Linked DNA regions of Homo sapiens: all the other regions are linked to region 5. The links are contacts of gene promoters, found by promoter capture Hi-C in blood cells and fetal thymus (Javierre and others, 2016). All regions are on one chromosome and are shown on one strand. Each heading gives the region's core, a stretch centred on a gene start or on the middle of the fragment in contact. The rest is flanking DNA. Distances are from core to core; before and after follow the strand shown. Region 1 has its middle 27 kb from the start of TENT5A. Region 2 overlaps LINC02542 (long intergenic non-protein coding RNA 2542). Region 3 overlaps LINC02542 (long intergenic non-protein coding RNA 2542). Region 4 overlaps LINC02542 (long intergenic non-protein coding RNA 2542). Region 5 holds the start of BCKDHB (branched chain keto acid dehydrogenase E1 subunit beta). Region 6 overlaps LINC02542 (long intergenic non-protein coding RNA 2542). Region 7 has its middle 6.4 kb from the start of LINC01526.

Evidence for each region. The method cuts DNA at HindIII sites, captures the fragments that hold promoters and counts their contacts. A CHiCAGO score of 5 or more calls a contact.
Region 1: a contact is called between a fragment that was not itself captured here and the fragment with the promoter of BCKDHB in region 5, in 2 of 17 cell types (neutrophils and naive CD4 T cells). The highest score is 11.2, in neutrophils.
Region 2: a contact is called between a fragment that was not itself captured here and the fragment with the promoter of BCKDHB in region 5, in 1 of 17 cell types (neutrophils). The highest score is 6.9, in neutrophils.
Region 3: a contact is called between a fragment that was not itself captured here and the fragment with the promoter of BCKDHB in region 5, in 1 of 17 cell types (neutrophils). The highest score is 5.5, in neutrophils.
Region 4: a contact is called between a fragment that was not itself captured here and the fragment with the promoter of BCKDHB in region 5, in 1 of 17 cell types (erythroblasts). The highest score is 5.0, in erythroblasts.
Region 6: a fragment that was not itself captured here is called in contact with the fragment with the promoter of BCKDHB in region 5 in 1 of 17 cell types (monocytes); the score reaches 11.8 in monocytes.
Region 7: a contact is called between a fragment that was not itself captured here and the fragment with the promoter of BCKDHB in region 5, in 4 of 17 cell types (total B cells, neutrophils, naive B cells and 1 more). The highest score is 7.0, in total B cells.

The regions. Positions count from the first base shown.
Region 1 is chr6:81,777,923-81,780,628 of GRCh38, forward strand. No RefSeq gene overlaps it. Among named protein-coding and RNA genes, the nearest start is that of TENT5A, 27 kb to the left of the region's middle. The HindIII fragment of the contact is 3,644 bases long and covers 1-2,706 here.
Region 2 is chr6:82,049,838-82,052,905 of GRCh38, forward strand. All of the region lies in intron 3 of LINC02542 (long intergenic non-protein coding RNA 2542), which reads right to left. The region is part of intron 2 of LOC107986617 (a long non-coding RNA gene); the gene reads left to right. Among named protein-coding and RNA genes, the nearest start is that of LINC02542, 50 kb to the right of the region's middle. The HindIII fragment of the contact is 1,923 bases long and covers 755-2,677 here.
Region 3 is chr6:82,025,673-82,028,507 of GRCh38, forward strand. The region is part of intron 3 of LINC02542 (long intergenic non-protein coding RNA 2542); the gene reads right to left. The region is part of intron 2 of LOC107986617 (a long non-coding RNA gene); the gene reads left to right. Among named protein-coding and RNA genes, the nearest start is that of LINC02542, 75 kb to the right of the region's middle. The HindIII fragment of the contact is 2,805 bases long and covers 1-2,707 here.
Region 4 is chr6:81,986,249-81,989,389 of GRCh38, forward strand. The region is part of intron 3 of LINC02542 (long intergenic non-protein coding RNA 2542); the gene reads right to left. Among named protein-coding and RNA genes, the nearest start is that of LINC02542, 110 kb to the right of the region's middle. RefSeq lists a silencer at 2,451-2,651. The HindIII fragment of the contact is 4,309 bases long and covers 1-3,141 here.
Region 5 is chr6:80,105,320-80,108,118 of GRCh38, forward strand. It overlaps BCKDHB (branched chain keto acid dehydrogenase E1 subunit beta), which reads left to right and starts at 1,352. Exons shown (of 10, transcript NM_183050.4): 1 at 1,352-1,570. The coding sequence starts at 1,375. RefSeq lists enhancers at 1,148-1,648, 1,615-1,694 and silencers at 1,235-1,434, 1,465-1,564. The HindIII fragment of the contact is 20,612 bases long and covers 869-2,799 here.
Region 6 is chr6:81,965,715-81,968,793 of GRCh38, forward strand. The region is part of intron 3 of LINC02542 (long intergenic non-protein coding RNA 2542); the gene reads right to left. Among named protein-coding and RNA genes, the nearest start is that of LINC02542, 130 kb to the right of the region's middle. The HindIII fragment of the contact is 502 bases long and covers 1,501-2,002 here.
Region 7 is chr6:81,819,080-81,822,133 of GRCh38, forward strand. No RefSeq gene overlaps it. Among named protein-coding and RNA genes, the nearest start is that of LINC01526, 6.4 kb to the left of the region's middle. The HindIII fragment of the contact is 2,252 bases long and covers 165-2,416 here.

The sequences.
Region 1 (2,706 bases), core at 204-2,703, 1.7 Mb after region 5:
AGGCACAACTTCCCCTGCATGCCCAGGCTTTCTGGCATCCCCTTCCCACTCCTTCCAGTGGACTCTGGGGCTAGTTGGGTTAGATTCTGATAGAACAGAGATCATTTGGCCTGCCTGTAGATCAGAGAGAATAGCTTTGGGAACCTGGAATGGCAAAAATTTATACACCGCAGCAATGTGGTAAGGACAAAGACAATGTGAGCTCTGTTACTGTCACCAGATGCCAATCACCCTTCCCTACTTGAAGGAGAGTTTTAACTTCAGGACTGGCTTTTCAGATTTTTCCTTTTCATCTCACATAAAATTTGTTACTACTCACCTTCTTGCTTTTAACTGATATTTAGTATATAATTGAATTAAGCCAGACATCAGGATCCTAAAGTGTTTCTCACAGAGTTTTGTTTGTTTGTTTGTTTTGTTTTCTATTTGCAAACACCAGTCTTCATTGCCCCCAAATAAAACAATTTAGGAGGCTATTTAAAATAGATTTTCCAGGACATCATATGTGGCAAGAACTTTGAGAATTCCTAGATATTATGTGAAAATGTGCTTTATGCCCCAGTGCACAGGATAAAAAGTCCACAAGGCTGCCCAAAGCCACGTCTTCTACACTCCCCTTTAGGATGGAGCCTGATCCTCTAAAGACTGGACTAAGAGCAGAGATGAAGACTACAGAGGAAAATGAATGCTAAGGGTTTGGGGGACTTATAGGAATGTAAGGATAGTAAAGGGACCATGATTCAGAGCTCCCTGGAAGTTACTTATTTCCATCCTTTCTTTCACCCTTTCTCCTTCCCCTCTATTCACATTATTTGTTGTGGAAACAGTAAAAGATTTGAAATTTGGGTTAAAAATCCTGGCTTCACCATTTCCTACTTGCTAGAGTCTTTCTTGCTTATAAAATGGGAATGATATTCACTTCACAGGTTGTGAGGATTATGTGAGGGAACATTTGCGAAATGGAGAATAATAGCCTGACATGTAGTAAACACTCACCAATTAGAGCCACTTCTACTCCACTTGTTCAGATGATGCTAGAAACTCCTTTAATTACAAAGAAAAAGCATTTCAATTAGAGATTAAAAAGTGAGTAAAATTCAATTTGATGTATCAATACAGTCTATACCAGATTTTGATGAGACTTGGAGCTAAGGCCCAACTGATTTTGGAGATTTCTAACAAAAAATGCTTTAGTATTTTAAAATGTATTATTACTTTTAAAGACTTGTTATCTCATTAGTAAATGATAAATAAATGGTAAGTTATCTCATTTCTAAATGGTAAATTATCAGAAGGAAAATAGGAGGCAGAATAAAAACGAGGCAGATGAATTATCGCCAATGTTTATTGAGTTCTTATCCTTGTCAGGCACTGTTCTAAGAGTTTTTTACATGTGAATCCATCCAACAACGCTCTGATGTAAGATACTCATTGTCTTAATCATACAGGCAACGAAACTAACTTTCCCAAGATCACAAAACTATAAATAATAGGTCTAGATTCAAGCCCAGGCATTCTGGATCCAGAGCACACACTTAGCCTCTTCACCACTTGCTTAGTCCTTAGTTTCTAGATATTGACTAATCAACAAAATGAAATCATTATCCCAGGATTATTTTATTCAATTTAAAAGTCTTCTTTTGGTAACCAGCAGCCCTTAGTTTAAATATATACAGCATAGCACACACACACACACACACACACACACACACATAAACACAGTTGGCAATTGTCTTGTTTATTCATAATCATATTATTTTTAAGATACACAATATAGGAACCAAGTAGTAAACCCTCTGATTTTACTGACAGAAATTAGGAGACATGACTAAAGTACTAAAGTCATCCAGTTAATTTGTAAGAAAATCATTATTAAAAGTTGGGGTTCTTATCTTCCAGTTCAGAGCCCTTTGCTCTATTTTACTGTCTTATAGTAATGACAACATTGAGGACTCACTGTGTGCTCTGTTAAGCTGTAGATTAAAGTTATCCTATATAATCTTTCCAAAAATCCTATTCGATGTTTTTATACTCATTTTACAGATAAGCAAACTTATATGGCCTATGTATGTATAAGCCAGTCCATGTTATTAACTTTCACATTAATAGCATTGCATGCACCAGATTTATTAGTTAATTTAAATAAATAGACAACCCAAGGGCTTTATATTATTTTTGGGTTATTTCATTTAGCACTCTTGTCACTTCTCTGAGTAGTACCCATCTCTGTGTAAGACTACATTGAGAACATTAGTATTCTATGCTACCTATTAGTCTTATTTACATAAAAACAAGGAATAAAAGCAAAAAGTTCCACAGGCTAAAGAGCCTCTCTTCTAAATAAAAATCAGTTGGTAGGCCAGGCATGGTGGCTCATGCCTGTAATACCAGCACTTTGGGAGGCCGGGGCAGGCGGATCACAAAGTCAGGAGATCAAGACCATACTGGCTAAAATGGTGAAACCCCATCTCTACTAAAAATACAAAAAATTAGCCAGGCGTGGTGGCGGGTGCCTGTAGTCCCAGCTACTCGGGAGGCTGAGGCAGGAGAATGGCTTGATCCCGGGAGGCGGAGCTTGCAGTGAGCCGAGATCGTGCCACTGCACTCCAGCCTAGGTGATAGAGCAAGACTCCATCTCAAAAAAAAAAAAAAAAAAAAAATCATCCTTTGGTAAAAGCATTAGAACTTATTTTCTGTTTTATGATT
Region 2 (3,068 bases), core at 466-2,965, 1.9 Mb after region 5:
TTCATAAGGAAATAAAGACTCAAAGAAATAGGTGAACTTTCATATTTTTACACTTAGGTTTGATGGAAAAGTAGATAGCCATGGAGAAGTATGTCTGGGCCAAGGGGGTATGATCTAATGATAATAAACTGGGGGGAACTTAGAAAGGCCTGTTTGTTAAGATTCCTCTCTGTGTCCCTTTTCTCCAGGTATAAGAAGGGCACCTCTCAAGTGAGAGTCTTATGACCAGCTTCAGAAGAGAAGGGTGGGAAGTCAGAAAGTAACCATCTTAGGATTTATACCCTGCTTCAGGGAGAAGGGGGAAAAAGGAAAAATGACCTTCCTACTTCTGCTCTTTCTCAAATGCCCAATGTTTTGGGGTAGCTCATCAGTACCATATTTATTTAACTACCTACCTATTTTTGGGCATTTGTTTCCAATATTTTGTGAACATATGTTTTCATTTCTCCTGGTTAAATACCTAAGAGTGGTATTGCTGGGTCATAGCATAGGCATATGTTTAATTTATTTTAAAAATAGCAGTTTTCTGAAGTGGTCATACCATTTTATACTCTTATCAGGAATGTATGATAGTCCATAATGTTTCATACCATGGCCAACATTTAGTGCAGTCAGTCTTTTCAATTTCGATTATTCTAGTTGGTGTGGAATATTTTCTATGGTATCCTTTTGTGGGTAAAATTCACTTCCCCCAAGACAATGTTGAGCACCTATCCTTCTGCATAATGGTTATTTGCATTGAAATGTTGGTTCAAGCTTTGTTCATTTTTGAATGGGTTGACTTTTTGTTATTGATTTGTAGGAGTTTTTATATTTACAAATTTCAAATATATGTATTGAAAATATACTTTCCAAATCTATGGATTTTCTTTTTATTTTTATTTATTTCTATTTTTTGAGATGGAGTCTCTGTCACCCAGGCTGGTGTGCAGTGGCACAATCTCGGCTCACTGCAACCTCCACCTCCTGGGCTCAGGTAATCCCTCCACCTCAGCCTCCCAAGTAGTTGGGATTACAGGCATGTGCCACCATGCCCAGCTAATTTTTGTATTTTTAGTAGAGCCAGGGTTTCACTGTGTTGGCCAGGCTCGTCTCAAACTCCTGGCCTCAAGTGATCCACCAGCCTCAGCCTCCCAAAGTGCTGGGATTACAGGCGTGAGCCACTGTGCGCAGCCTGCCTTTTTATTTCTTAATGGCGTCTTTAGATATTAAAAAGTTAATATTTATGAAGTTGATTTTTTAATTTCTTTTATAATTAGTGCTTTTTCTATACTATTTAAGAAATCTTTACTCCAAATTTGCAAAGATATTCTCTTATGTGTTTTAGAAACTTTTTAATTTTAACTTTTTTGTTTAGATCTATAATTTATCTCAAATTAATTTTTGAGTATGCATGAGGTAGTGTTAATACCCTTTTTTTCATAAAATTAAACAGTCTAGTACCATTTGTTGAAAAGACTTTTCTTTTCCCTTTAAATGGCCTTGATCCCTTTGGAAAAAATCAGTTTACCATGTATATATAGGTCTACTTTTGCACTCTCTATTCTGTTCTAGCTCTCTGTCTATGTTGATACCAATTTCAAGATGTCTTAAGCAATACAGCCTAATAGTGTAGTCATTCCTTGATCTGCAGGGGAGGAATTCCAGGACACCCTGTAGATACCAAAATCTGCAGATGCTCAAGTCTTTTACATAAAATAACATAGTATTTGCATATAACCTACACACATCCTCTCATATACTTCTCATATACTTTAAATCATCTCTAGATTACTTATAATAATACAATGTAAATGCTATGTAAATAGTTGATATACTGTATTGTTTTTAAATTTGCATTATCTTTATTGTGGTATTGTTATTTTTATTGTTTTTTTCAAATGTTTCCTGTGTTGGTTGAACCTACAGATGCAAAACCCACAGATATGAGCTGACTGTCTTTTGAAATTAGGTACAATGAAGCCTCTAACATTGTTCTTTTACAAGATTGTTTTGGCTATTCTAGAGCCTCTTATTTCCCATATAAATTTGGAATCAGTTTTTTTTAATGTCTACATTTTAAACATGTAGAACCAACATTTTGGTTGAAATTGGATTCAATCTATATTTAAATTTGTGGAGAATTAATATCTCAATAATAGTGAATTTTCAATCCATAAATGTTCTATATCTCTTATTAAGTCTTCTTTAATTTCTTTCAACAATGTAGTTTTCCATGTTGAGGTCTTGTATACATTTTGTTTAAATTATTCTTGAGAATGTTATGTTTTGAGTGCTTTAAGGATAAAAATGTTTTCTTGTTTTGTTTTTTAATTGTTTGTGACTAACATATAGAAATAATCTTTTAATATTGATCTTGTATACTGAGTCCTTCCTAAATTCACTTCTCAGTTCCAGTGGTTCTTCTGTAGATTCTTTAGGATTTTCTAAGTAAACAATGATTTCTCCTGTGAATATAAATAGAAGAAAAATAACTTCTCCCTATCTGATCTTTGTGACTTTTTCTTGTCTTTTTGCACTGACTAGTGCCTCAAGTACAAATGGAATGGTAAAAACAAACACTCTTGTTTCCAATCTTAAAAGGAAAGCATTCAATTTCACAACTAAATATAAGCTGTTGATTTTTAGTGAGTCCTCTTTATGAGATTGAGAAAATTTCTATCTTTAACTTGCTGAAAGCTTTTAATCATAAATGGATGTTGAATATTGTGAAGTGTTTTGTCTGCACCTATTGAAATGAATATATGATTTTTCTCCTTTTCTTAATGGTGAACTATGTTGACTGACTTTAAAATTTTAAACAAACCCTTTTATTCCTTGAAAACAAACACCTGATCATGATATAGTCATACACACAGACACACACACAAACATACACACACACACACACACACACAACAACAAACATACTGCTGAATCGTATTTCCTATTATTTTGTGAAGGATTTCTATGTCTGTGTGCAGGGAAGATATTTGACTATAATTTTCTTTGTGTGCAATGTTTTTGTCTGGCTACATTATCAGGGTAATATTGGCCTCATAGAATAATATAGAAAGTATTCCTTTCAG
Region 3 (2,835 bases), core at 55-2,554, 1.9 Mb after region 5:
ACTGAATATCATATTGGTCTCACTGGGACATATCATAATCCCATGGGTAAGGGAGACAGAAGGAGCATATGTCAATTGCTAATCCAAATCTGGCTGTATTAAAGAGGGAAAGGCTTGTGTCTCAAAGGCAAAGGAAGAAACAGTGAATAAGTGGGTACAAAATGACAAGTCTACCATGCTCCCATCTTTAAATTTAGGCTAAATCTCTCCCAGCTCCAATGACTGAACATTTCTACTTAAAGTTCTTAGCACATTGATAACTACTTGCTCCTCTTTAATTGGGTAGAAGTCTATCTTACAGATATCTTTCCTGCTGCATTTCTTACTCTGAACTAAAAATACGTGTTAGTCTCTCTCCTTCATGAGATTGTGAGCTCCTCCACTGTATCCCTTAGCATTAAGCATGGTGCCATGTATGCAGCAGGGGCTCAGTAAATGTTTGCTGCCTGCTGAATGACCCAAAACTACAGAATTGAGGGGAACTCTCGAGTTACAAATTATATTACTGTAAAGTAACATACAGTCACATAACAAGAGACTTGAACAAAAAGGACATTGAGGTTTTAATTGAAGCAGGTACAATATAAGCCAAGATATGTTTTATAAGCTGGTCAAAATGTGAATGTTATCTTGGTTCTATTGATAAAATATGGTGTACACAAAAGAAAGGAGTAGGTCTATAGTACCTAACACTAAACAGACTACATCTTTAGTATTGTCACAATTTCTTATCACGACATTATAAAGAGATTGAAAAGTCTGAAATGTTTGAAAACTATATTAAATGAAACATGTTAACTGAACAGGGAAAGTTTGCAATAGGAAAGAAAAGAACTAAGAGGTTTGATCACCACAGTTATACAGGAGAACCATGCAAAACAGAAAGCAAGAGTTATTCTGTATGACTACAGATAAAAATCAAGATGAATGGATAGAAGATAGATTCATCTTCTACTCTGGAAATGACAAATCATTTGTCACACAACATGTCCAGATTCAGGGCTCAGAAGCTGTAGTCAATGTGATGTTTGAAGGTGTGAGTGAGTGAAGTTTAACAGGACTAGAGATGTCAGAAGGGTTTGTATATGTGTACGTGTGTGAAAGAGAATAGAACCTTAGTGCAAGTGTTACAAATTAATATTCTAGAATAGGAAATATACCTCTTTGACTAAAACTATTAGGAAACAACTACAAATTGGCACAAATACAAATGCAAAGGAAACCTCTGGTACAATTTAGCAAGTCAAGAAATAAGAACTATGATGACTATAGTTAATAACAATGTATTACATTCTCTAAAATTGGTAAGAGAGTAAATTTTAAATGATTATCTTTTAAGTGTAAATTTAGCTAATTAACATATGCATTACCTCACCACAAAAAATGAGGTGACGCATATGTTAATTAGCTAAGTTATTCACTCCACAATATATACATATTTTAAAATGTGATGTTGTACATGATGAATCTACACAATTTTTATTTGACAATTTAAATAAATACATATTCTAAAATAAATAATAACTAAACAAATAACATTTGTGAATGTGCAGTAAACTGTCACTTTTCTCTATGAAAATAGTAAGTTCCCTAGGCTGTGAGTCTACAGAAATGAAATTTTGAAACTGTTGGTTTGGGTTTTTGAATAGAACAGTAAGTTTGAACAAAACAGAAGCACAATGATATGAATTCATAATGGGAGAAGTCAGCTGATATTCTACATTGTATGTTTACCAAAGTGGGATGGAGCTTCTCTGGTTGAAGTTTCCAGTCAACAGACAAAAAGGGAACAATGGAGCCCGGTTTTCGGGAGGGCCACAGGGATAGAGCTAGGGCTGATCCAGATAGAGCAGAGTACACATTAAAAAGAATATAAGACCCAAACTTTGGGGGGGTGAATGATATTTGGGAATTCTGTGATCTCTAAAAACTAATTTTAGAGAAGAGGGTTCAGTTAGGTGGAGGCTGTTGAGATGGACAGTGCAGCAGAAGGCATTTTCATTTACTTTAAGCTCCCCTGATGCTGGAGAAGTGCTTGCAATGACTTCAGCAATTCTCCTCTTTTTCGTTCAGTGAGTGTGTCTGTTTAGTGCTGATTAAAGATGGGAGCCTGACAAACACTCATTTTTAGTGAATTATTGGTAAAGAACTGTTTACCTTGGGTTTACACTGCATCTCCAGCTCTTATATTTGACCAGTCTAGTAATGATAATTAAGCATTGATAGTTAGCTGAACATTCTTGAATCAAGACGACTGGGGTTTTTTGTTGTTGTTGTTGTTGTTGTTTGTTTGTTTTGGTTGCTGTCAATCTCCTTCTCCTCCCTCAGCAGTTACAATTTGTATTCACCTGGGTCCCCATTAGTGAGTTATATTCCGCTAAGACTATAGAGACAACCTCTGCTCCACTGTCCATCTGAGTGCTGATCTGGCTAAGTCCTCATCTCTAACATTCATTTCTAGAGATCACAGAGCTGAGGCAGGAAAACTTAAAATGAATGAAAGTGCTCCAATTGACAATAAATGAAGAAGATGTGGGCTCAGAGTTAGAGAATTTCCTTGAATTGTTCTAAATTTATGCAGTTGGAAGGCTTTTAAAAGTGCCATCCTACTCAACCTTCTAAAAGTATAATTTTTCTTTTTAATAGAAAATTCACATTTGATTGAAGAGATGGAACATAGCAATTTCAGTTTAATGTTTCCCAGAGAAGCTTGTCATTCACTGGATTATATGCTTAATATTAAGTTCAAAACACAGATTTTAGATAATTTATTTTCAGTACAGAAGATGGATTTATATAACTCAAAGAACAAACTAATAATGACAACTTTTCCTT
Region 4 (3,141 bases), core at 407-2,906, 1.9 Mb after region 5:
GATCACTATAATATTCTGTTCATTTTTACTTTGCTCACACCCTGGAGTGGAAATTTGTCTCCATTTGTGAACTTCAATGTGACAACATTTTAAGGACAACATGTTCTTCCATATATTTTTTTCAGTCAAGATTCTTTCTGGCTGGTCTTTACATTTCTGGTTGGTCATACTTCACAGAGACTTTTTTTTTCTTCAACTTTTATTTTAAGTCTGGGATACACGTGCAGGATGTGCAAGTTTGTTACATAGGTAAAAGTGTGCTATAGTGGTTTGCTGAACAGATCATCCCATCACCTACGTGTTAAGCCCAGCATCTATCAGCTGTTCTTCCTGATGCTCTCCCTCCCGCAACCCTACCTCTGATGGGCCCCAGTGTGTATTTTCCCCACTTCCATATGTTAATGTGTTCTCATCATTCAGCTCCCACTTATAAGTGAGAACATGCAGTGTTTGGTTTTCTGTTCCTGTGTCAGTTTACTGAGGAGCATGGCTTCTAAGTCTATCCATGTCCTTGCAAAGGGCATGATCTTGTTCCTTTTTATGGCTGCATAGTATTCCATGGTATATATGCACCACATTTTCTTTACCCAGTCTATCATTGATGGGCATTTAGGTTGATTCCATACCCTCGCTATTGTGAATAACGCTGCAATGAACATACATGTGCATATATCTTTATAATAGAATGGCTTATATTCTTCTGGGGATATACCCAGTAAAGAGACTTTCATCAAACACCACTCTCCCCAAGGATAGATCATAATCAATGCCTCAGCTAACTTCTTTCTAAATCCTCCTATTCCTTAGATTCTACTTAGTTCCCTTAATAAATATGAAATCTAAAGCCCCTTAACTCCCTTAATAAAATAACGGTACTATTATGCTTTATCTCAACCCATCCCAACTGAGCTTAGCAAGTGTCAGGAATAGTGACACAATCAATAACCCAACAACTGTGGAACTTTATAATCCAAATCCCCCACGAAAATAAATGGATATTATTTGACCCAAATTGTGTTTTAATCAAATCTTTCAGCGACTAAATATTGTTTCTCAGAATACAGCAATATGGAGAGTGATGTGATTTGGCTGTGCCTCCACCCAAATCTCATCTTGAATTCCCATGTGTTGTGGGAGGGACCCGATGGAGGGTAGTTGAATCATGGGGCAGGTCTTTCCTGTGCTGTTCTTGTGGTGGTGAATGAGTCTCACAGGATTCAATGATGTATAAGGGGGAGTTTTCCTGCACAAGATCTCTTATCTTGTCTGTCGCCATGTGAGACATGCCTTTCACCTTCCACCATGATTGTGAAACCTCCCCAGCTTCTGAAAGTCCATTAAATGTCTTTCTTTTGTAAATTGCCCAGTCTCAGGTATGTCTTTATCAGCAGCGTGAAAATGAACTAATACAGAAAGTAAATGAAAATATTTAAATCTCTGAAGTATTCATGAAAACAATTTTGCCATTTCCAAACGGTCAGGCCCCTTTAAAATCCAAGCTAACAGAAAAAATAATAATTTAATACACATCAAAGTTCAGCCAACATCACAAAGGGAGTCTTCAAACTCTTGAATTGATATAAGAAGATCATATTTCTTTGGTACTTTTCCAGTTTCCAGAAGACAGTAGTATGATGAGTCTTAATTTCTATATATTGATTGACAAGATACACTTTTGTGTGTGAAATCAGTGTAATAAATAACCGAACATTATATCCTCCAAATATTCATTAGGCAATAGCACAATGCTGGTAGGTAATATACTTTATCTTGGACTGTTCATCCAAGTTTAAATCTAAATTTATTAGATTATTCTGCACATATTCTTTCCAGGTCTTTCTCTGCAAAGTGGATAAAAAATGGAGCACAGTTTCTTAAGCTAATTCATCTTCATAACTTCACCATATTAAATGCAATCTCTGTGATAAATTGAAATGTAATTTCACATACATTTTTAAGGGGTTAATATTATTAAATGTGTAAACTCAGTTCACCGCAATATCTTCACCTGGAAATACTAAAATGTGAAATGATTTCCTAAAACTTAATATGAACTTCATTGACACTGCTGGAAATGTGTTGCCACATACTTATTAGAGCAAGCAATATTATAGGCCTAAGCCGACTAGGGTGGAATGACAATTTCTACTACTATGACTTGAGATTAATAATGATGAAAATAATTGACAACTTTTTATTCAAAATCATCTGTGGGAAAAACAAATTCTTTTAAATATATATATAAGATAGAAAATAGGCTGAAACCAATCTTGACCATATCTCTTCTGGGAGAATAAAGTTGGCTCTCCTATGTCTTGATTTGACAATACGTGTAGACAAAAACACAGTCTCCTTTTTTCCCTTGAGCAAACTCCCCCAAAGCTATCAAATTCATTTTAACTTAAATCACTCAATGACTCATAAAGTTCATATCTGTTTCAAAAAGATAGCTCTGAAAAGAAGGCTCAATAACAAGTGACAACAATCAGTAAAAATATTTTGGCAAATTGTTGCCCATGGTAAGACTTTTTTAAAGAAATGATAAAAACATACATATCCATTGAAAACTAGACAATCTTTGGGATATCTCACCTGAGTGTCAGTGTAACAAACATGCCAAGCACCAAGAAAGTCCAAACAGAAAACTTTCCACATACTCAGTTGTTATTTGCTGGATTATAAAACTATATGGCTTATGTATAAATAAATATATAACAGTAGAAATCCCCTCATTATTTCAAGTATTCCAAAGACTACTAGGAGAATTATGATAATCTGGTGATCTTAAGCACTAAAAAAAAATGTTGGGTAATTCGAGTAAACAAAAGTATTAAGGAGATCGCTAGCATTTTGATTGCTTCACAGTATAGAATGAGTACTTCATATTTTGTAGATTCCAAAAAACCTCAGAGTTGAGACAGAAAAATCTACGACTGTAATATGTGATCAATTTTATAAAAATAAAAATATCCCCAAGAAAAGATATTTTGTTATAGATTTATTTAGCATCTGACCAATATGTGTAAGTATTCCCAACCCAGTTTAAGCAACTAATCCTAAAAGAGATTGTTAAGTATAACTTCCTGCCTGACAAAAAAAAAAAAAGCAAACTCCTTTATCTTCTCAAATTTAAGAACAGTC
Region 5 (2,799 bases), core at 102-2,601:
TCTATTCATTTTTATCCTTGTTCTTTACTCTCCTTAGTTTAAACCCAAATTTGACTATGTAAATGTAATTTCATTTTGTTACCCCTTCCTTCATTAAAACAAAAATACCCTTCATGCACATGCAAAACACTCTACCCCACACTATTAAAACAGCAGAAATGAACACTAACAAAAGCCAAGATAAAAAATTTCCCCAATGTTGAATTTTTGGACTTAGTGTGGGGGTAGGAAAAATGGAGACATAATTCTGGTTCTCCCTTTGGCAGTTTTCAATTGCTGTTTCTTAATCTCAGTCAGAAAACACATTTCTCTGCCTCTCCTTTTGCCCCATTTCTACCCTCTCCTCCCTTGCCCCTGTGCAAAACCAAAGATGGGTTAAGAGGCAAGGCATAATGGAAGAGGAATGTTCTTTTCCTCCACTCCCACTTTCTTCTTCAAATTCTGTTTTGGGACCATCCTTCCCCACCCTCCCATTTTCATCTGATGGACACACTGTCTCTGTTGTCTCTTGTCATATTTGATTTTATGATATTTCATGTTTTATGTGCTTTTTTTTTTTTTTAGTAAATTCATGGACAGAGAATGTATCCTGGTAAACACTTAGATTAAAACAAATTTACATAGTTGATTACTATAAATGAAAATTAGTGACTCAAATTCTCCAGGTTTCTAAGCTACTTAGACTAAGCCAATCAGGTAATTTTTGCTACTTCTGGGCAAAATGTATCTGAATTCCTATTCAGTGGATTTGCAGGATGAAATCTAAGTTTACCTCTTTCATCTCTCATTTAAATGTGGAAAAACGAAATCAATAAAAATCTATATATGCTTATTAAGCATTTTAAGGAGGGTGTGAATAAGGAGTGAAAGCTTTGAGCAGTGACTACAGCAGTTTTTCGAAAGTCAAAACAATAACCAATGCCAATCAGTAGCTCTCTTCACCTCTCACACAATAATAGAGACAGGACAGGATAAAAAAGGGTTACATTTAAAAAAAAGTATGGATGTTAAACCATTGGAAATGGCACTGTAAATGACACCGGAAAAGATCGCCTCCAGGCACTGTGTGGAACTTTGCAAACTCGGGTCCTCACCCGAGGACCGCACGGCCGACCTCGGGGAGGCTCCACCCCAGAAACTATTTCATTGGCGCCACCTCTAGCCCACACTTCCCCTCTTCCGCATGCGCACAAGGAGCAGAAGCCGACCAGCTCGTCACGTCGCCTTCCCCGCCCCTAAATTTCCAGTTCCGATTGGTCTGTTTCATGGGACCGCCCCTCTGGCCCGACCAATGTGGAAGCCTCCTCGGGTGCTCCGCCCTCCCCGCAGGCGGCGTGCGGCTGCATAGCCTGAGAATCCCGGTGGTGAGCGGGGATGGCGGTTGTAGCGGCGGCTGCCGGCTGGCTACTCAGGCTCAGGGCGGCAGGGGCTGAGGGGCACTGGCGTCGGCTTCCTGGCGCGGGGCTGGCGCGGGGCTTTTTGCACCCCGCCGCGACTGTCGAGGATGCGGCCCAGAGGCGGCAGGTGGCTCATTTTACTTTCCAGCCAGATCCGGAGCCCCGGGAGTACGGTGAGCCCTGGGACTGCCCACTCGGTCCCGCTGCAGCCCGGACTCCCAGGCTCGCAGGCGCCCGCGAGGGGCAGGGGCCGGCAGGCTGCAATCCTTGCATCCCAGCTTATTAACTTCCTGACTCTCTGGAACCTCCTTGCCTCAGGGTCTAACTGTGGTTCACTTCTTGCTCTATTTTTGTGACTGTTCAGCCCTCGAGACGCAGTCCCCCCTCCCCCGCAACTTTGAGATGGGTGAGAGGGCATACTGCCACCTGGAAGAGCCTGAGGGTGGAGGGGTGGTGCCCAGGGAACGCCTCCCTTTTCTCTGTCCTCCGTCCTTGCTTTCTCAACCCAGGCCTTAGGTGTTGTTCCAGCCTGGCCAGGACTGGGCCACTAGCTTAGGTAGAGGCATTTAAAAGATATATATATATGTTTATATATATATATTTTAAATGTATATTATATATATTATATATAAAATATATATATGTATATAAAATCAATTCAGTTACTCAGTCCCTTGGTTTCTTCTTACATACAGAAATTGTGTGTATGTGTGTGTGTGTGTGTGTGTGTATATATCCACACACATATATATATGTGTGGATATATATACGCGCATATATATGCATATATATGTGCGCATATATATATATATGCATATATATATATGCACACATATATATGCATATATATATGCATATATGTATATATGTCCCTTGGTTTCTTCTTACCTACAGAATTCTGAGTAATTGAACTGATTTTCCCAAGGTCACAGAACAGGTCCTTCCTAGAGATGTGAAAGAATTCAGACTTTCTACTTGAGCTTAGTACTGAGCTTGTCCTGGGCTATGCTGCCACTTAGCCAAGGAGGTGAAGGGGATGAGAGGAGGAAGCCATAGGAAGGGCATGTAGCAAACTCCTCATAGTATGACTGTTGCATGATTTTTACCATTTCTGCAAGTTTCATGTAATGTCTCTCATCAGAATATCAGATCCAGTGTCTCTCTTCAGAATATCAGGAAACTGTAGGGAAACATGTATTGCTTCCTTGTCTAATAACTTCTCATGTGCATGCTAGAGCTGACATTTTTGGAAGTGTGTCTTGTGGATAAGAATGAACAGTTATTGAGTGCTTACCAGGGTCAGGTGCTGTGTGTATGTTTCATCATCTCATTTAAGGGTTAGGACAACCTTAAAAGGTTAGTAAAGTTTTTATTCCCATTTTGCAGTTAGGTTAATGGAGTC
Region 6 (3,079 bases), core at 502-3,001, 1.9 Mb after region 5:
TGCGGGGCTCCAAGATTTAGGGTGTACGTTGGAAATGCAGGCTCTGTTAGTAGAGTGTATAAAGGTTACTCTGAGGTTCACAGTATAGAAATGCCAACATTATTTGGCTAAGTGAACTTTTCTCAAGCTGAAGGGTCCTAATTCACTATGTCAGTTTATCAGGATCTTCTAATGTCAGTGAAGGCTCCAGGAAGGATGTGTTACATGAACTGGTGAGCTGCGTGTTTGTTTTAAGTGGAAAGTATGTATTCAACCTTCCACTTAAAGATGGAAAAGGGATGGGAAAAAGATGGTAAAGGGATGAGAAAGAAGGAAGAGAGTGGAAATTCAACTGCTGAATAAGGTTGGATGAGTCAAGGAAGAACACAACATGGGGATGGGGCTATAAGGTGATAGCTGTCATGCTTAACTCTGCCATTAATACTGCGATCCTGGTGAAACCCAGTCAACCTCTCCCAAGATAGAATGCTCATAGTTTTATTTTCTATTCTGATGAAGACTAGGTGAGGTTTACATTATTACATTAAAAAAAGAGAGATGACTTACCTTTTACTATCCTCATAATGAATTTTATGTACATTATACCTGTCATATCAGGGTTATTGGTTTTTTTGTTTGGTTGGTTTTCTTCCTTTAGGGAAGTTACAGAAACTTGTTTTTCTTCTATTCCTTCCCTGGTGATACAATATACAATATTATGGGAGTGGAATATTCTAGACCAAAGGCAGATCTACATGAAATATTATGGCATGTGAAAGACATTGCAAGTTATTTCCTGGGGGTCTAACAAGAGATGAATAAACACTCCTGAACACTTATTATGGCCAGGCACTAGGATGAACCCTTTATTTATATCATTTCATAGTCTCAATAATAACCCTAAAGTTGATGCTATTACAAGGCTTATTTAATAAAACCAAAGAAGTTAAATAACTTGCCCAAGATCAAACAACTAGCAAACAACAGAGTCAGGATTCAAATAAGGAATTAAATTCCACAGCCCAGGTTCCTAAGTGCTTGGCTACACTGCCTCCTCATGAATGCTGTGCATCAAGATCTGACGTGCATCAAGATCTGAGCTATATCCCTTAGGTCTCTATTTCTCCAACTATAGCATATGAGTCAGAAATACATAAAGCCAGAGAATATATGTAGCCATTTGCCCAGTAAATCAATGGTACTGAAAGACCTATGAGGGAAAATTTTACTCAGATAGGTGAGAAGATGTTAAACAGTGAGAATTTTCAAACATAGGAAAAAGAAATAAAGATACACTGTAGATTAATATGCAAAACTTTATAAATTATAAAGGTAAATCATGAAATTTTGGAAAAATGCCACGGTTGTGGTCACCATTTTAGCTTATGATCTCTTTCCTCCAAGCTTACTCTTTTGTGTGTGTGTGTGCATTCACATATATTTTTTGAAATATTGCCTTAGGCACGAGAGCCATGGAGTGTTGCAACAGGGATGCATTGTGGCCAGGTTTACATTTTGGAAAGCTTCTAACAGGTGAGAGAGGAACACAAGGAAACAATCACACTTCCCTGGTAGAATGAACACTGATTTCACTTACAAGATAAGAGTGAGTTTGAGGAGCCTGGGGATCCTCCAAGTGGCATGACTATGAAGAAAACTGGAACTCAGAAGAGAGGTCTTCCACAAAAACCTTGTATCATATTTTATACTAACATCATTCAAAACTATGTTCCCACCTATTTCACAGAACAGTGTTTGGGGCAGAGTAGCTACCCCAAAACCATTTGTTGAATGAATGAAGTGGAAAATAGAGGGCATATACTAATAATGTAATTAAGAGAATCCATTAATGCTACACTGCAAAAAAAAATGTTCAGAATTAAAGGACCTTTTGTATCTTTATATGTGCATATGAATGTCAAACATTTTATAAGGTTCATAGGATATAGTGACGTTTATCCCTTCAAGAAAATGACTTTTAAAGAGGAGAAAGTTCCCACATAGTCCTGCTGCATTTAAAAGAAGCTTTAGATTTTAACATGCCGATCATTTGTTATTTCTATAATGTGGAGACTTTACTAAAGGTAAATGTTTATAAAGAGCTTTTAAATAAATCCTTCTGTCTTAGGAAATTATTGTCTCTTTACTAATCTGTGAGAAGATTTTTGGCTGCCACTGCCATGTACTTCTGCCAAAATTGTATATGTGTATATATATACACACACACATATATATGTAATTATTTTATATGTAGGATTTATATATGTGTGTGTATATATATATACTTGTATACATATATGTATGCATATATTGCAGTGTGTGTGTGTGTGTGTGTGTGTGTATATATATATCAGAATATGGTCTCTTTTCTTCCAATATGACCTCTGTAATATAACAAATTGTTTAAATGTTGATTTTGCCTCAGTAATTTCTCCCAGTGGCTTCATTAGTTTTTCCATGTTTTAAGAACTCTATAGCTACATTTCCTAAGAGACATTTATTTCTGTGTTTCCTAGTTATAGGTTTATAGATTACTAGGAGTTCTGGGTCACTGTGTTACTATAAGATTGAGTTCCAACTTTATGACTCATTTTCTAAAAATCAATTTTCTCAAGCCACTGTCCATTTAATTTCATTGGCCATGATTATTTTGAAATAAATGCATATATGCCTATAGATGATACTTTAGAAACTATTATTGGCTTAGGTTTTACATTGAGCTCCATTTTAATGTTCAAATTGTGTTTTATAGTATTTGCTTCCTTTAAATGTGTTTTTATTGAGAAAATAAAATTTTATTTTGCATTAAACTTACCATTAAAAAGATGAATGTCAGTATAGTATGACTAAACACTGCCACTATTAAATCTTAGAGGTCTTAGTTTGCCTTTGCTTCTTTAACTAGCTATGTGTGGTTGTAGAACATGAACTAGCCTGTCATGATTCCCATTCTAGGCAACGAAATTAGAAGTGTGCATTATGACAGTGTTCTGTGACTTCCTTCTCCTGACCCCAACTTCTAACCATCTTCCCATTCCCAGTACTTTCATTATGCTTCCTGGAGCCCTCAATCCCTAGCCTTGCCACTAAACTCACTCCA
Region 7 (3,054 bases), core at 41-2,540, 1.7 Mb after region 5:
TTCAGCTCAAATTGCCTTGTGTTCACATGATCCCATCTCACCCACCTCCCTCACAACTGCAAGATGTCATGGGACAAGTGTAAGCCTTAGAGGAAAAACTGAACTTATCACAGGATCATCATTTCACAGCCATGTTAACTTGAATCAGTCCCTTAAACTGTATAAGCTTCTGTTTCTCTAAGTGAAAAATGAGCAGGCAGCCAGGCATCCTGGCTCTAGCAATAGACTCCTTGGGTCATATCACAGCTCTGCTACTTTTAGCTGGGTGAAAGGGCAAATTCATGTCTCCAAGCCTTGAAGTCTTCCTTGATGAAAGTATGAATAATGAGGCCCACTTCATAAGGTTGCTGTACAGATTTGATGAGATGTAAAACCCTGATACACTGCCTGGCACATAGGAAGCCCTCGATTCAGGTCAATTATTACAATTATTATTATGGGGTCACTGTAAATACCCATGAGCTAATGTCCATGTCCTGGACAGCCTCTGTTTGTCCCTCTATATCCACTCTGCCCCAGCCTTCTTCCCCCAACTCGGGCCCCATGAAGCTCAGTTGGAGGGCCTCCATCAACGCTCCTTCATCCTTGGGCTTCTGTTTGCGCAAATGGAGGCACTAGCAGGAGATGTGCTCCCTCCCTGGGAAGGTCCGTGGTTCCTGTCAAATGACTTTCTCCACAGGATGCCCTACGCACTGTATATATTGTCTGGGGACGAGTAACCAGTCCCTCCTCTTGGTAGTGATGTCCTGCTATTACTAGCTCTGGGATATTATATTATCTTGGTTTTGCTTCACTGTGGTGACTCCCTTATAAATAGTTTCTTTATTGAACTCTACTCTATGTGAGCATGCGAACTGCTTCCTGACTGACACCCAGTTGATAGAGTGTACATTAGAGTACTTTGTGAAGTTACAACACACACCTTTCACCTATGTGCTTATTTGTCCCTACATCCCTAGCAACTGGCAGCGTCAAGCACATGAGGAAAAAAAAAAAAAACAAAACAAAAAAACACTGGGTTGGGCGCGTTGGGTCACACCTGTAATCTCAGCCCTTTGGGAAGGTAGATCTCTTGAGTCCAGGAGCTTGAGACCAGCCTGGGCAACATGGTGAAACCCCGTCTATACAAAAAAAAAAAAAAAAAAATACGAAAATTAGTGGGCAGCATGGTGGTGCACATCTGTAGTCCCAGCTACTTGAGAGGCTGAGGTGGGAGGATGTCTTGAGCCTAGGAGGCAGAAGTTGTAAAGAGTTGAGATCACACCTTTGCACTCCAACCTGGGTGACAGTGCAAAACACTGTCTCAAAAAAAAAAAAAAAACACTGTTCAAGTTTTTAAAAAATACACTGCCTTGAATGTGTCCTCCAAAACTCATGCTGAAATTTAATTGTCATTGTGGCAGTATTAAGAGGTGGGATCTTTTAAAGGTGATACAGTCTTAAAGACTCTGCCCTCATGAATGGATTAATCACAGAAATGGGTTTGTTATCATGAGGGTTCAGCCCCTACTCTCCCTGAGTCTCGCTTGCTGGCTTGTTCTTCCTTTCACTTTGCACCATGGGATAACCCTTGCCAGATGTCCGGCACCATTATCATGGACTTTCCAGCTTCCAGAACAATTAGTCAAATAATATATTTTCTTTATAAACTGCCCAGTCTGTAGTATTCTGTTACAGCAGCAGAAAATAGTCTGAAACAAAAAGAGACTGACTTTTTATAGAATGACACTTTTCCCTTTTATGAGGCATCCTTTGCTAAGCCTTCTATAAAATATATTAGCATTTCTTATCAGCATCAATGGACAAAACTCGTTACCAGGTGCCAAGCACTTCTATCAAGAGTACATCTTAGACCCCGTGGAGAACTGGAACTGCCTCCACTTCTCCACAAGACTTTTCGTCTGCAACCTCCCTTCATCAGTCTCTTTCTGTAAGCTCCCAGGTTAAAGTCTCTTTGCTATTTTCATTTGTTTGCTTGAAGCATAGTTTGTTGCCAGCTGTTAGCTGTAGTGCAGTAACCCATTTAAAGTCCTACCATACTTCCTTCTAGAGATAATTGATGCTAATGAGGCATAAAATAATCCATTTGAATAACTGGTAGAGAAGTTTCAGTTTCAATTCAGTTTCTTTTCATGGAAAATAAAACTTCACAACTTGATCATGTGTGAAAGCAAAGTCGGCTATTTCAAAGAAAGGAACTGATTAAAAAGAAAACACTCACACACACACACACCCCATAACCTGTTGACACTAAACTATCTGAACACAGAAGGCATTTGGGCCAAGGCAGAGTAATTGAGATTTGTGCTTACTTTTCCCTTGGTCTTGCCCTAATGGGTTCATGAGGATTGTCTATAATGAACAAATAATAATTCTGATAAATGAGTTTATTGGTTAATTCATAAAACATATGGCAAGCTTCCTCTGCCACAGTATTTGGGCAAAGGAAAAGCAAATGAAGATCAAGAATAAACAAATGATATGACACAAAAACAATGTTTTGAAGTAGACCAGAAAAGTCAACTAATTAGGGTTTTATTGATCTAGAAAAGGGGAAATCCCAGTTCTATTCTAGGCACATTTGCACATACCTAAGTGTCAAAATGGAGATGAAAACTGTGTTTTCATTAAAACTCAGTGGGTGTGGGCCCTAATTCTCACATTCTTCTGTAGGTTATCACAAGCTTGCTCTGTAGACTTTATGTTGCAAAATAATGAATACTATACAAAAGGAGCAGTTACCTTCCTCATATTAGCCTGGATAAGAATGACAGTGCTGTAATATTAAACGACCCCCAAAATCACAATTTTAACTTAATAAAATCTTATTTCTGCCTCCCATAGTGTATACTGCTAGTCCAGGTGATTGTCCAGGATAGGCTTTTTGATCTTGTTTTACTTCCATTTCAGCATGTATTTTCAAGATGGCTGATCACTTCACCAGAGAAAACAGTGTTGCTGGAGGTCTTCTACCAACAATTAAATATGCCAGCCAGGAAGTACCACATGGTACCTAATGTCCAAAAAGAAATGTGGAGCCATTACTGTAACACA